Regions from separate parts of the Homo sapiens genome. Here all the other regions are linked to region 3. Evidence: promoter capture Hi-C in 16 types of primary human blood cells and fetal thymus (Javierre and others, 2016). All regions are on one chromosome and are shown on one strand. Each heading gives the region's core, a stretch centred on a gene start or on the middle of the fragment in contact. The rest is flanking DNA. Distances are from core to core; before and after follow the strand shown. Region 1 overlaps PSMC6 (proteasome 26S subunit, ATPase 6). Region 2 holds the start of KTN1-AS1 (KTN1 antisense RNA 1). Region 3 holds the start of CNIH1 (cornichon family member 1).

What was found. The method cuts DNA at HindIII sites, captures the fragments that hold promoters and counts their contacts. A CHiCAGO score of 5 or more calls a contact.
Region 1: a fragment that was not itself captured here is called in contact with the fragment with the promoter of CNIH1 in region 3 in 1 of 17 cell types (M2 macrophages); the score reaches 5.5 in M2 macrophages.
Region 2: a contact is called between the fragment with the promoter of KTN1-AS1 here and the fragment with the promoter of CNIH1 in region 3, in 1 of 17 cell types (total CD8 T cells). The highest score is 6.2, in total CD8 T cells.

The regions. Positions count from the first base shown.
Region 1 is chr14:52,709,218-52,713,721 of GRCh38, forward strand. It overlaps PSMC6 (proteasome 26S subunit, ATPase 6), which reads left to right. Exons shown (of 14, transcript NM_002806.5): 5 at 1,884-1,951; 6 at 2,193-2,307. Among named protein-coding and RNA genes, the nearest start is that of PSMC6, 4.3 kb to the left of the region's middle. The HindIII fragment of the contact is 1,162 bases long and covers 1,633-2,794 here.
Region 2 is chr14:55,578,110-55,582,040 of GRCh38, forward strand. KTN1-AS1 (KTN1 antisense RNA 1) reads right to left here and starts at 1,983. Exons shown (of 3, transcript NR_027123.1): 1 at 1,827-1,983; 2 at 497-628. It overlaps KTN1 (kinectin 1), which reads left to right and starts at 2,098. Exons shown (of 44, transcript NM_001079521.2): 1 at 2,098-2,245. RefSeq lists enhancers at 1,323-1,442, 1,453-1,542 and silencers at 1,983-2,242, 2,303-2,942, 3,122-3,416. The HindIII fragment of the contact is 5,026 bases long and covers 163-3,931 here.
Region 3 is chr14:54,440,020-54,444,500 of GRCh38, forward strand. It overlaps CNIH1 (cornichon family member 1), which reads right to left and starts at 1,355. Exons shown (of 5, transcript NM_005776.3): 1 at 1,228-1,355. The coding sequence starts at 1,308. RefSeq lists silencers at 829-878, 889-1,248, 1,289-1,558 and enhancers at 964-1,762, 1,639-1,698. The HindIII fragment of the contact is 1,439 bases long and covers 493-1,931 here.

The DNA.
Region 1 (4,504 bases), core at 964-3,463, 1.7 Mb before region 3:
GGTCATTTAGATTAGGGTAGGGCAAGTTGAAATAATTCTAAATTTTATTTTACAGTTATCAAAGATGCCAACAAATGACCTCAAGTCATTCAGTAGTGTCTGAAATCAATTTATGTATTATTCTTTAGGAAGTGTCCTTAGATAATTCTTTTAAATTCATTGGAAGAGTTTTCTCTGTTTAATTGTCATTTCAGGTTCAGGTTTTAAAACATTCACAGAACATGGCTGTAAGGGAGAATTTAATCCAGGAACTATAAATCTCCTATTAGGATTTTGCCTAGTATATAAGCGGTTGACATTTTCTAAGTCAAAATATTAGATACCTAAACTGACAAGGGATTTTCATGTCCCTTTCAGGGCTCTGTGGATGCCGAAAGTTGGCATTTCTAAGATATTTCAGGTTGCATGAGGACAAGACTGTATTTGAAGACTAAAAAACATTAGAAAAGCCGAAGTATATATAAGTTGAGTATCCCTTATCCAAAATGCTTGAGCCAGAAATGTGTTTTAGATTTTGGCTTTTTTTTTTTCAGGTTTTAGAATATTTGTGTTGTACTGGTTGAGCATCCCTAATTAAAAAAAATCAAAAGTTTGAAATGCTCCGATGAGCATTTTCTTTGAGCATCATGTCAGCATTCAAAAAATTTCACATTGTGGAGCATTTTGGATTTTCAGATTAAGAATACTCAGCCTGTATTTCCTATAGATGTAAACATTGAAATAGCTTCATATTGATTTCTCCTCTTATTTTTTCAAGTAACCTCACTTCTTAGCCGTTTTTTCCTTAATTGTTATATTAATCCTAGTGTTTTGCCTATCTTCCTAAATTTGAAGCTCTTTGTAAAATCCTGTGACAAGTGGTCAGTAATTTATATGATTCCGAAATTGTATTGGCACGCAGTTTTTTAAACTATTAAAAAGTAACTTGGGTCGGGCGGGGTGGCTCATGCCTGTAATCCCAGCACTTTGGGAGGCTGAGGTGGGCAGATCACGAGGTCAGGAGATCAAGACCAGCCTGACCAACATGGTGAAACCCCGTCTTTACTAAAAAATACAAAAAAAAATTAGCCGGGCATGGTGGCACACACCTGTAATCCCAGCTACTTGAGGCTGAGGCAGGAGAATTGCCTAAACCAGGGAGGCAGAGGTTGCTGTGAGCCAAGATGGCGCCACTGCACTCCAGCCTGGGCGACAGAGTGAGACTCCGTACTCCATCTCAAAAAAAAAAGTAACTTTATCTTTGAAAAGTAACAACATCCTGAGAGTGAGGCAGATCTAGTAGATTCTAATTTTAGCCAGATAAGCCAAGAAATTATTTAGTATGATTCAACCTAATGTGTAATGTGTTCAGCATGTGCCTGTCATGTAGCAAAGGCATGAGTGATGGTTGCTGGGTTTTGGGGCTTTAAATTTAAAGCATTTTAATAAAAATCTCTAAGGGGAAACCGTGCATTTTTCTCTACTCTCATGAGCATTTAACACATTCTTCCCAGAAGCTGTACATTTCAAAATAAATCTGATGAGCACACCTTTAAAATGCTTCCCTTTCCTTTCCCTAAAATGTTCACTAAGGGATTTTTCTATAAATGCTTTGGTAGCAATTCCCAAAGTCACTGTACCATTGCTGCCTCAAGCTTTGTGTGTTAGTCATTTCACATTTTACACTGAGATTACACAAAGGGGCATGCTTTTAAGGAGCAGGTGGAAATCACTTTGAATTACTTATTTTATAAGCCATTTTGTTAGCATAGAGTTTATAATCTGATATTTGTGTTCTCTCTGGAGGGTAAAAATGAGTGTTTGGCTTCTAAATATTAAACTCTCGTTAGAGTGTTATTCCGTTTTTAAGTGTTGATGTAATATCTTTTGTTTTACAAAACTAGCTTGACAAAAGTAAGCTGAAGCCAGGAACAAGAGTTGCTTTGGATATGACTACACTAACTATCATGAGGTGGGTTTCTTATTCTATTTAGTTCACCTTTTATTTTCACAAAGGGTGGTTTTTATCTGAGATATATGCTTCTTGAGATCACTGAATATTTTGGCACTTTTTCCCTTTTACTAGTTTCTAATTAAGCACATCTTTATGAGATCAGCTACAGGTGCTTGCTTGAGCAAGTTATTTATATGCTATCTGTAGGCTAAGAGAAAATATATCTTTCAAAAGAAAAATACATACCTTTTCATTCTAGATATTTGCCGAGAGAGGTGGATCCACTGGTTTATAACATGTCTCATGAGGACCCTGGGAATGTTTCTTATTCTGAGATTGGAGGGCTATCAGAACAGATCCGGGAATTAAGAGAGGTTGGTACTGTGTGCCTTGTTCTCTGAACTTAGCTAATAAATACTACTAGTTTTAGGATTCTTAACAGGAGAAACAGGATGAAAAAGTACTTTTTGTCTAAATGGTAGTTAAGAATATTATGTATTTACTATTCTTGCTAAGAAGAATAGCACTGAATTTCTAGCTGTGAAAATTACTGTTTTTTTTTATTTGGAGATAATTTGGTGTTAGAAAAATCCTGCTCTTTTTGTGGCAAAGGAACGGAGAAAAAGCTAAAAATAATTGATGTAATCTGATATCCTGTGGTTTTGATTATCATAATAAGTTACTTGGGTCAGAGCATATTTGGATAATGTGTGTGATGAGTTTTTTCCATAACCTCATTAATACTAGCTTCCCACTCTTACAGAAGAGTAGGGTACCTGTTCCTTAAATATTTTATTTTGTTAAAGCTGTTTGCTGCCATTCCAGAAAACCACTGGCTTTAGGATTGTCTTAAATCTTGTAAGCTTTTAGGTGAACAGTCAAATCAGGATTGCCTTACTTCATAGCACAGACAGCTTCTTAACTGTTATCTGTAAAGCAAATTACATTGTCCTATGGATTTTATCCTAAATTAGGCTGTGAATATTTAGGAATTAATGGGAATAATTGGAATGTCTTACACAATCTGATTTAAGCTTTAAGCCAGTTCTCATACTTCAGTACATTAATTTTTTTTGGAACACTTATTAAAAATACACATTACTAGGCCCTCTGAGTGGTTTTGATGGACTAGATTGGGGGTAGGCACAGGAATTAGCATTTAAACAAGCATTCCAAGTGATTATGAAACCAAATTTTTCTTTGACAATACTTGAGGAAGCACTGGTCTAAGTGTAAAAAAAAAAGGCAGTTCTCACCTGTATTAATGAAAGGGCAACAGAGGAAGAACAGGTGCTTCATAAAACGGTGAAAACTTGCTTTCAACAGTGATTTGCTGCATTAGCCATAGGAGCAGAAAGAATCCCATGTATACATGCAGTATCCTTTACTGTCTGCAGATACTTTACACTTTAGAGTATTGATTTCTCTCACTTCTGGCTTTTCCCAGTCACGCTTTATGCACATATGGACACAACTTTTTTTTTTCTTTTGAGACAGGGTCTGGTTCTTTTGCCCAGGCTGGAATGCAGTGGTGCAGTCTCAGCTCACTGCAACCTCTACCTCCCAGGCTGAAGTCATCCTCTCACCTCACCCTCCCAAGTAGCTGAAGGCATGCGCCACCACATGTGACTAATTTTTTTATTTTTTGTAGAGATGGGGTTTCACCATGTTGTCCAGGCTCTTCTCGAACTCCTGAACTCAAGCCATCCTCCAGCCTTGGCCTCCCAAAGTGTTGGGATTTACAGGCGTGAGCCACCGCACCTAGCCCAACACAACTATTCAATAGAAATTTCTCTCTCGGTCAGGCATGGTGGCTCACGCCTGTAATCCCAGCACTCTGGGAGGCTGAGGTGGGTGGATCATCTGAGGTCAGGAGTTCAAGACCAGCCTGCCAATACAGTGAAACCCCATCTCTTCTAAAAGTACAAAAATTAGCCAGGTGTGGTGGTGGCGCCTGTAGTCCCAGCTACTCAGGAGGCTGAGACAGGAGAATCTCTTGTACCCGGGAGGCAGAGGTTGCAATGAGCCAAGATCATGCCATTGCACTCCAGCCTGGGCAACAGACTCTGTCTCAAAAAAAAAGAAATTTCTCTCTTAAGTTACTGGTACTATAAGTAATTTAAATTGGACTTTCAGATCTTCAATTTCTCTAGTCTCTACTTTTCTTCCTTGAATCAGTCTTGAGAGCAGAACATACTGTTCTTTAAAAGCTGCCGTGGCAAAATGCCAACAGATAAAAATTGTATATACCTTTTCTCTTGGTATGTTGTCAAATCCATCCCCCATTTTAGAATTATTTTGTGTTGTATTTTCAAATGCAAACTAGTATAGATCTTTTGAGTTGTGTTTTTTGTTTATATGTTCATTTGACTTAACTGATTTTTTTGTGGTATAATTTTTCATTGAGGTATAATTACATTAAAAAAATGTAGATTCTTAAGTGTACATTTCAAATATGTTTGGACAAGTTATATATCTGTGTAACCATCACCCCAATCAAGTGTGTGGTTTATTTAAAAAACATTATTTGAAATTTTTTAGATTTAAGAGATCTTAAATCTACCTGGAGCA
Region 2 (3,931 bases), core at 733-3,232, 1.1 Mb after region 3:
TTTTAGTAGAGCTGGGGTTTCACCATGTTGGCCATGGTGGTCTCGAACTCCCGACCTCAGGTGATCCACCCAGCTCGGCCTCCCAAAGTGCTGGGATTACAGGTGTCAGCCACTGCGCCCGGCCTCTAGTAAATCTTTTTGTTTTGATGTGAATAAATAGAAAGCTTATAAAAAATAAAGCATTCAACCACTTCCCTTTCTATAGTCAAAGTTCAAACGCCAGAAAAGCCGAAATAGGTGATACAAAGTCATCCTTTAGTATAAGCAGTAGTATGTTTTGAGAAAATCCTAAACTCCACTCATTGTCTTACTTACAAGTGCACCGAAATATTATTGCCTGTAAATGACATTGCGGTTTTACTGGTCAGGAAAATGAATGATATAAATTTTTAATTCTAACCTAAAACCTGCGTTAGTACTAACCTGAGGAAATAACATGGTTGTTTGTAAGCTAATCAAGAGCCCTTAAACTCCATTACATAAATGATACACTTACCCTTTGTATTAAGGGACTAACGGCTTCGCTTTTCAACAAAGCTGGATCTTCTGGCACACGCTCAGAAGATAGCCAGTACTTCAGAGACAGATTGCTTTGAGGGCACTGGAACCGCTGAGGGGCAGAGTAATCCTAATGAGAAAGAAAAAAGAGGACGCCTCTGGAGTTAAAATAAGACAATGCATCTGTGGAGAACACGGTGACTGAAGACTGGCAGAATTCTCAATATCTCAGGCCACTATACACTGCGCAGTTTTCATTTGTATTTTGGAGGTGCTCTAGAAAACTTAGAAATGATTAGAATAAAAAGTATGGATACTTTTAACCAGCCCATGTACAGGAAATTCTGTTGGTGTAGAAACGGTTCTGCTGTTCATTCCTTAACTGCTTCTGTTCCCACTTTGTCAGATGTAGGGCGAGGTGGTGGTGGTGAGTCCTAATTTTTTCTATCTCTATCCACAGTCTGGAATCGTTAGGATTATTTTAAGCCTTCATAACATTTGCGGACAGCTTGGAGTGTTTTGTACATGTAGTGGGGCAGTGCCTGGCCTCCTGTGAGAGATTGATCATCGGTAAACAATCCACACGAAACTCACTTGCCAGTGGACGGGGAGGATCGCTGCCATCCTTTCAGCAAAGAGCAAACGAATAAGGAGAGATCCGGGCCCATCCCTCCTCGCGCAGCAGTTTCTAGATTTTTACCCCGGCTTCATAAATGGCTACCAGCTGGCAGTCACAACACTTTCATAATGTTTGCACACAACTCATTTGGGTCGCTTTCTTTTCTTTCCTTTTTTTTTTTTTTTTTTTGAGAGAAACGGAGAGTCTTACTCTCTCGCCCAGGCTGGAGTGCAGTGGCGAGATCTCGGCTCACTGCAACCTCCGCCTCCTAGATTCCTGCGATTCTCCTGTCTCAGCTTCCCAAGTAGCTGGGGCTACAGGCGTGCGCCACTATGCCCAGCTAATTTTTTGTACTTTTTTTGGCAGAGACGGGTTTTACTATATGTTGGCCAGGCTGGTCTCGAACTCCTGACCTCAGGTGATCCGCCTGCCTTGGCCTCCCAAAGTACTGGGGTTACAGGCGTGAACCACCGCGCCCGACCATTATTTGGGTCGCTTTCTAATTTCTTTCTCCGTTTGTAGCTAGCGTTGCCCGAAGGAGATTTCAGAGAGATCCCCTGGAGAAAGGGACGGGGGATGTCGTTTTCCAGTAATTTCTGGGGGAAATCTGGGATAGTCAGGGGGTAAATCTAGTGCCGTTTGCTGAAGTTAAAAGGCGTGGGGAGCCAGGTGGTGCCCTGGAGGGAGGGCCGCGCGAGACGAGACCAACCTTCGGGACAGGGGAGAGCGGGGCTACTGAACGCAGGGGATTCCGCTGAGCCTCCAGCCCCTGAGCGTCCACCTTCGGCCCAGCTGGGGGACGCGGTCTCGGGAAGAAAGCCCGGAATCCCGAGCCGGCCAGCCGCGAGCAGCGAGTACCGGAGCGCGTGGGCAGGCGCGCGGAGGCAGAGGCGGGCCGGCGGCTGTCCCTTTAAGGGGCCGGTCTCCCGGCGCCGCCGGCCCAGACGCCAGGACGTGCCGGGTCCGCCCCGCCCCGCCCCGAAGCCGCCCGTTTCCTGCCGAGCGGCGCGACGGCACCTGAGCGACTGCGGCGGCGGCGGCGGCGGCGGCGGCGCCTCGGAGCGGGCGGCCCGGGCTGTAGTGCCGGCGCCGCCGCGTCTTCCCGGTCTCCTTTCCCGGCCGCACAGGGTGAGGGAGAGCAGGCCGCACCGGGACGGGCGCCGGCGGCGGGGAGCGCGGGGGGAGGCGGCGCCGGCCGCGGGGTCCTGGGGCAGGCGGGAGGGCCGCGCCGGGCGGGGGGGCGCGGCCGCGGGGCCCGGACGCCGCCCGCTGGGTAGGCCTCGGGCATCCGGTTGCCGCCGCGGGGCTCTTGTTGGGGCCGGGACGCCGCAGGGGGCGGGCTCGGAGGGACCTCCTCGGCCTCGCGGGGCCGCTCTGGGCCCGACCCCGGCTCTGTCGCGGCACCCGGGGCGCGGCCGAGGGACACCCCCCACCCTCCCCAAGGACGACTCTCCCGAAGGCGAGGTCGACCCGAGCGGGCCCTGGGGTGACCGAGGCACCTATTTTTAGCCAAGCCTGAGGGCCCCCGGGAGGGAAGGCGGATTACCGCCTCCTCGGCCGGTGGACGGAGGCAGCGCGTCTCCGGCGGCGTCCCCGGGCCGGAGCTGGGCCACACTTACGCCATGCTGGAGTTCCAGTCCTCGCCGCTGCCTCCGGCGGTCTGGGCGCTCGCCCCCTTCCCCGGCGCCCCTCCCGCTGCCCTTTGCGAGTCCCCAGGTCAGGGCGGGAGGCGGTTGGGCACGGAAAGCAGCATGAGGGGGGACTTTGGAAAAATCCATGGACCACTCTCGACACCGGCGAAGTTATCCCTTCCTGTCCCCGAGGGGTGTGTCCTAGCGATTCGGCCTGACCCCTTCAGTTTCCAAAAGTGAGATTTTTGGCCTTGGGGACCTCGCCGGAAAACTACGCGGGAAGTCTAGAGAAGTCGTCTGGCTCTCAGCCATACGTCTGGTGTGGGATGTGCAGCCCCGCATGCTGGCGGTGAAGGCGCTGGGTGCACTAGATGTGGGCAGCCCCGGACGCGGGCAGCGGCGTCCCAGCCGGCCCCAGTTGCACCTTGACTAGGTTAGGTTGAAAGTAAGCTGTTCAGTGTTGGCCCTTCTTTCCTGTGGGAGGAAGGAGGAATCTAAATTCAGAACTGTGTTGGCAAACGGATTCCTTAGCCGCTATTTAAGTTAGTAGTGCTTAAAGAGCTACGGTTGAAGTTAACTGTTAAGGTGTGTGTGTGTGTGTGAGTGTGTGTGTGTGATGACTTTGTGGAAAGCCTTGAGTAAAGAGCTACGGTTGAAGTTAACTGTTAAGGTGTGTGTGTGTGTGATGACTTTGTGGAAAGCCTTGAGAAATGTAGACACTCATGGCCAGCCCAGCTAAAGATAAGCATCTTCGGTGAACTAAAGGTTCTGAATTGTATAGGAGTTGACTTAAAGTTAGAATTTTTGCTAAATTAGGTTGCATTTGTTTTCCTTAGCTTACCTAGCAGGCTAATGGCAACAGTGTCTCCAGTTTGGTCCGAAGCAATTGCTGGTGAGACTTGGGATAATGATCCCAAGCTGGTGAGACTTGGGATAATGATCCCAAGAATAACACTAAATTACTCTTGAGTATTTTGGGTAGACATGCCTTGCAGTAGACTTTCATATTTGATGTGCTGCCTGATAAAAAAGGCTCTTTTTTTTTTTCCTTTTTCCTTTTTTTTTAGTTTAAGGATCTAACCTGAAATAGCTGGGTCTGTTCATGAGTTTCCCTCCCACCCCAACATTGAGTTTCAAATGTCTCTTCTAATTTTGTAGCCTTCATCAGACATAACAATACCTT
Region 3 (4,481 bases), core at 105-2,604:
TACATAAGTATTCCTGATTACAATAAGCAGTCAGGTCCTAAAATAATTGTAAACATAATCACACTGCTTAGCAAAAAGGAATGGATTTGTGATATGCTTCCACTTTCGAGACTTTTTTGCACAAGACGCTGCTGCTGTTTAATCATTCTGCCCCTCCGTATGTTTCATAGAAATCCTTGTTACTGGCATGATGAAACCTGACTTAAAATCTACGTAAGAGTGAACGCGGTCATTCAAATTAAAAGCAACATTCCAGAAGGCACTGGAATATGGGGAAAAGAGAAGCAAGTATGAGATAAATTTTTAATGAATGATTTCCAGAAGGCTCTCAAGGCTTTTAATTTTGTGCTAAAGCAACAGAAATTCTTATCTCTGTAGAACTATGTCACAGGGAACTTACGACTTTTTCCTTAGAGGGACCAGTAAGGCTGTGCTTCCACCCTGCAATAGTGATGATGATGTGTGTAACAGAAATAAATACTGCCCCAGAAAAGCTTAAGGTTTCTGAGCATCTCAAAATCAAATGAAAACTCCCTCTACTAAATCAAGCAATCCTGAATATAAGGGTGGCTTGGAAAGCTGCCTGTTGAAACTCCAGCGGTCAAAGTATGATTTGGGGGGGAAACGCGCACATGCAATCAACAAAGTAATCAATTGAACTTGCATCAAAGTTCACCAGGAAACAACAATCTGGAAAAAGAGAAAAAAAGTGATTTGATTTGAAGAGCACCGAACAAGTGCTGAAAAGTAGAGTTGGAAATTCACCCTAAGTAGGTTACATTTTGGCCACAGTTCTGTGGAAACCCTAAAAGAAAGTCAATCTGTATTAACAAAAATTCGGAAAACTTCATTCACACTACGGCCGTCCCACCGCGCTGTCGACATCCTCCCCGGGAATGCAGGGCCGCGGGCCGGCAGAGGTCGGTGCGAACGCAGCGCGGAACCGCGGGCGCCCGCCTGGACCGCGGCCGCCCCATCCAGTAGGGGAGGAGTAGCGGTGCGCGCGGCCTGTGCCGAGGCAACGCGGGCGCGTCCACCTGGCGACTGCGCGCCCCGGCTCCTCCAGTACCCGCGGCCCCCAGACCCCTCGCCGCGCGGCCCGTGCCAGCCGGGCCGCATCCCCGACGCGCAAAGCCCCGGCGGCCGTGGCGGCCCGGACCGCGGGCCCGGGGCGAAAAGAGGCTGTGTTGCCGCCTCGCCCTCCTTTCCCCAGCCCCAGCTACTCACGTGCCAAATGGCGAAGAAGATGAGCGCGGCAGTGAGCAGCAGCGCCAGCATGTAGCAGAAGGCCGCGAACGTGAACGCCATGGCTGGGGAGGAGGAGCGGGGAGCGGCGCCGTTGCCAGCGGAGAAAGGCGGCGCAGGGCCCTCTGGGTAAAACCATTCACTTCCCCCGGCCACAGCCGCGACCGCCACCGCTACCGCCGCGGCGCCAGCCCTCTCAGCGCGCCTGCGCACCAGCCCAGCCGCCCCGGCGCCCTCTGATGGCCGGAGTCTGCGTTGCACTGACATTGTCCGCACAGTTGTTGATTGATTTTTCCTTCCTTCTTGCGTTTATTCTTTCAACAAATATTTATTGAATGAATGCCTAGTTTGTTACAGGTACCGCGCTTCTCGCTTCAGATACAAAGATGAATAAGATAGTACCTGCACTGAAAGAACTTAGTATAGTGCCGGAAATGAACACCTAAATAAATAATTACGTTATTATAACCCCGTAAACGGATGTGTGTGGGATGCTCTGAAAGGTCAAAGAAGGACAGCCAGCCCGCCCTGGAGCATTTAGGCAGGATTCCTGCTGTAGGTGTTTCCTAAGTTGGCCTTAGATGATGATAAGTTCTCCAGGCAAAAAGAAGGTAGAACTGGCAGTCCAAGGAAACAGTTCAGAATGAGGAAACGCAACAGAGATGGAAAAAAGAAAAGAAAAATAAAGCTTCGTGTCTCAGGTGAAACCAGCAGCAATTCTGTATTAATGGAACCTAAGTGCAAGACAGTGGTGAGACTTAGAAATGAATTAGCAAGGGATCAGATCATAGAGGGCCTTATAATGCTTCATTACGGAGCTCAGACTTCTTATCCCATAAGCCCAAATTTTTTGCTCACCACACACAACTAGAAAGATTTTTTTCATTGCAACCCAGTGGAATATCATACAGACATCAAGTTATGAAGAGGTGGAAATCTAGTTATAGAGGCAAAGAAATATAGATATGACCAAAACAAAAATTTCACAAAACTGTACTAATGATCCATAAGTACTTTCCCTTCTCTCTTTTGCTACTTGTTTTTAATGCTGGTCTTAACACACAAAATTGATTCAAAATTGATTTAACTTTCCATTACAACCATTTTTAAAAGAAAAAAACTCTATTAACTGATTGCTGCTGATGGAAGAGAAAATCATTGAAGGCTTTTGAGCAAAAGAAGACCATGTTTAGATTTGCATTAAAGATCGTTCACCTAGCAAATTGCGTAGAATAGTTTAGAAGCAGGGTCTGTCCAGTGCTGTGCAATAGAACCTTCTGTGATGGTGAAAATTTTCGATACCTAAACATTGCCCAATACAGTAGCCACTAGCCACATGTGGCCATTGGGCACTTGTAAATTGTCTAGCATGACTGAGGAACTGAACTTTAAATTTCACATCACTTTAAGTAAAATGTGGCTAGTGTATTGGACAGTACAACCTGTACCACCAGGATTATGTGGCACCTGTGTGCAAATTATCAAGTTACTTTTGGCCAGGCACAGCAGCTCATGCCTGTAATCCTAACACTTTGGGAGGCCAAGACAGGAGGATCACTTGAGCTCAGGAATTCAAGACCAGCCTGGACAAGGTAATGAGATCTTGAGAGGTGACAGCGTGCTGGCAGTCCTCACAGCCCTCCCTCACTCTCGGCGCCTCCTCTGCCTGGGCTGCCACTTTGGCGGCACTTGAGGAGCCCTTCAGCCCACCGCTGCACTATGGGAGCCCCTTTCTGGGCTGGCCAAGGCCAGAGCCAGCTCCCTCAGCTTGCAGGGAGGTGTAGAGGAAGAGGCGCGAGGGGTAACCGGGACTGCGCAGGGTGCTTGCGGGCCAGCTGGAGTTCCGGGTTGGCGTGGGATTGGCGGGACCCTCACTCGGAGCAGCCGGCCGCCCCTGCCGGCCCCGGGTGATGAGGGGCTTAGCACCCGGGCCAGTGGCTGCAGAGGGTGTACTGGGTCCCCCAGCAGTGCCAGCCCACCGGCGCTGCACTCGATTTCTCACCGGGCCTTAGCTGCCTTCCCGCGGGGCAGGGCTCGGGACCTGCAGCCCGCCATGCCTGAGCCTCCCACCCCCTCCATGGGCTCCTGTGCAGCCCAAGCCTCCCCAGCGAGCGCCACCCCCTGCTCCATGGCGCCCAGTCCCATCGACCACCCAAGGGCTGAGGAGTGCGGGTGCACGGCGCGGGACTGGCAGGCAGCTCCACCTGCAGCCCCGGTGTGGGATATGCTGGGTGAAGCCAGCTGGGCTCCTGAGTCTCGGGGGGAAGTGGAGAACCTTTATGCCTAGCTCAGGGATTGTAAATATACCAATCAGCACTCTGTATCTAGCTCAAGGTTTGTAAACACACCAATCAGCACCCTGTGTCTAGCTCAGGGTTTGGGAATGCACCAATGTGCACTCTGTATCTAGCTTCTCTGGTGAGGCCTTGGAGAACCTTTATGTCTAGCTCGGGGATTGTAAATACACCAATCAGCACTCTGTATCTAGCTCAAGGTTTGTAAACACACCAATCAGCACCCTGTATCTAGCTCAGGGTTTGTGAGTGCACCAATGGACACTCTGTATCTAGCTACTCTGGTGGGGCCTTAGAGAACCTTTGTGTGGATGCTCTGTATCTAAGTAATCTGGTGGGGACATGGAAAACCTTTGTGTCTAGCTCAGGGATTGTAAACGCACCAATCAGCGCCCTGTCAAAACAGACCACTCGGCTCTACCAATCAGCAGGACATGGGTGGGGCCAGATAAGAGAATAAAAGCAGGCTGCCGGAGCCAGCGGGGACAACCCGCTGAAGTCCAGTTCCATGGTGTGGGAGATTTGTTTTTTCGCTCCTTGCAATAAATCTTGCTACTGCTCTCTCTTTGGTTCCACACTGATTTTATGAGCTGTCACACTCACCACAAAGGTCTGCAGCTTCATTCCTGAACCCAGCAAGACCACGAGCCCACAGGGAGAAACGAACAATTCCAGACGCACCGCCTTAACAGCTGTAACGCTGCGAAGGTCTGTAGCTTCACTTCTGAGCCAGCGAGACCACGAACCACCAGGAGGGAAAAAACTCCGAACGCTTCCGAACATCAGAAGGAACAAACGCCAGACGCGCCATCTTAAGAGCTGTAACACTCACCACGAGGGTCCGTGGCTTCATTCTTGAAGTCAGACCAAGAACCCACCAATTCCAGGCACAATCTCATCTCTATTTCTTTTTTAAAATAATAAAATCCAATAACATTTTTT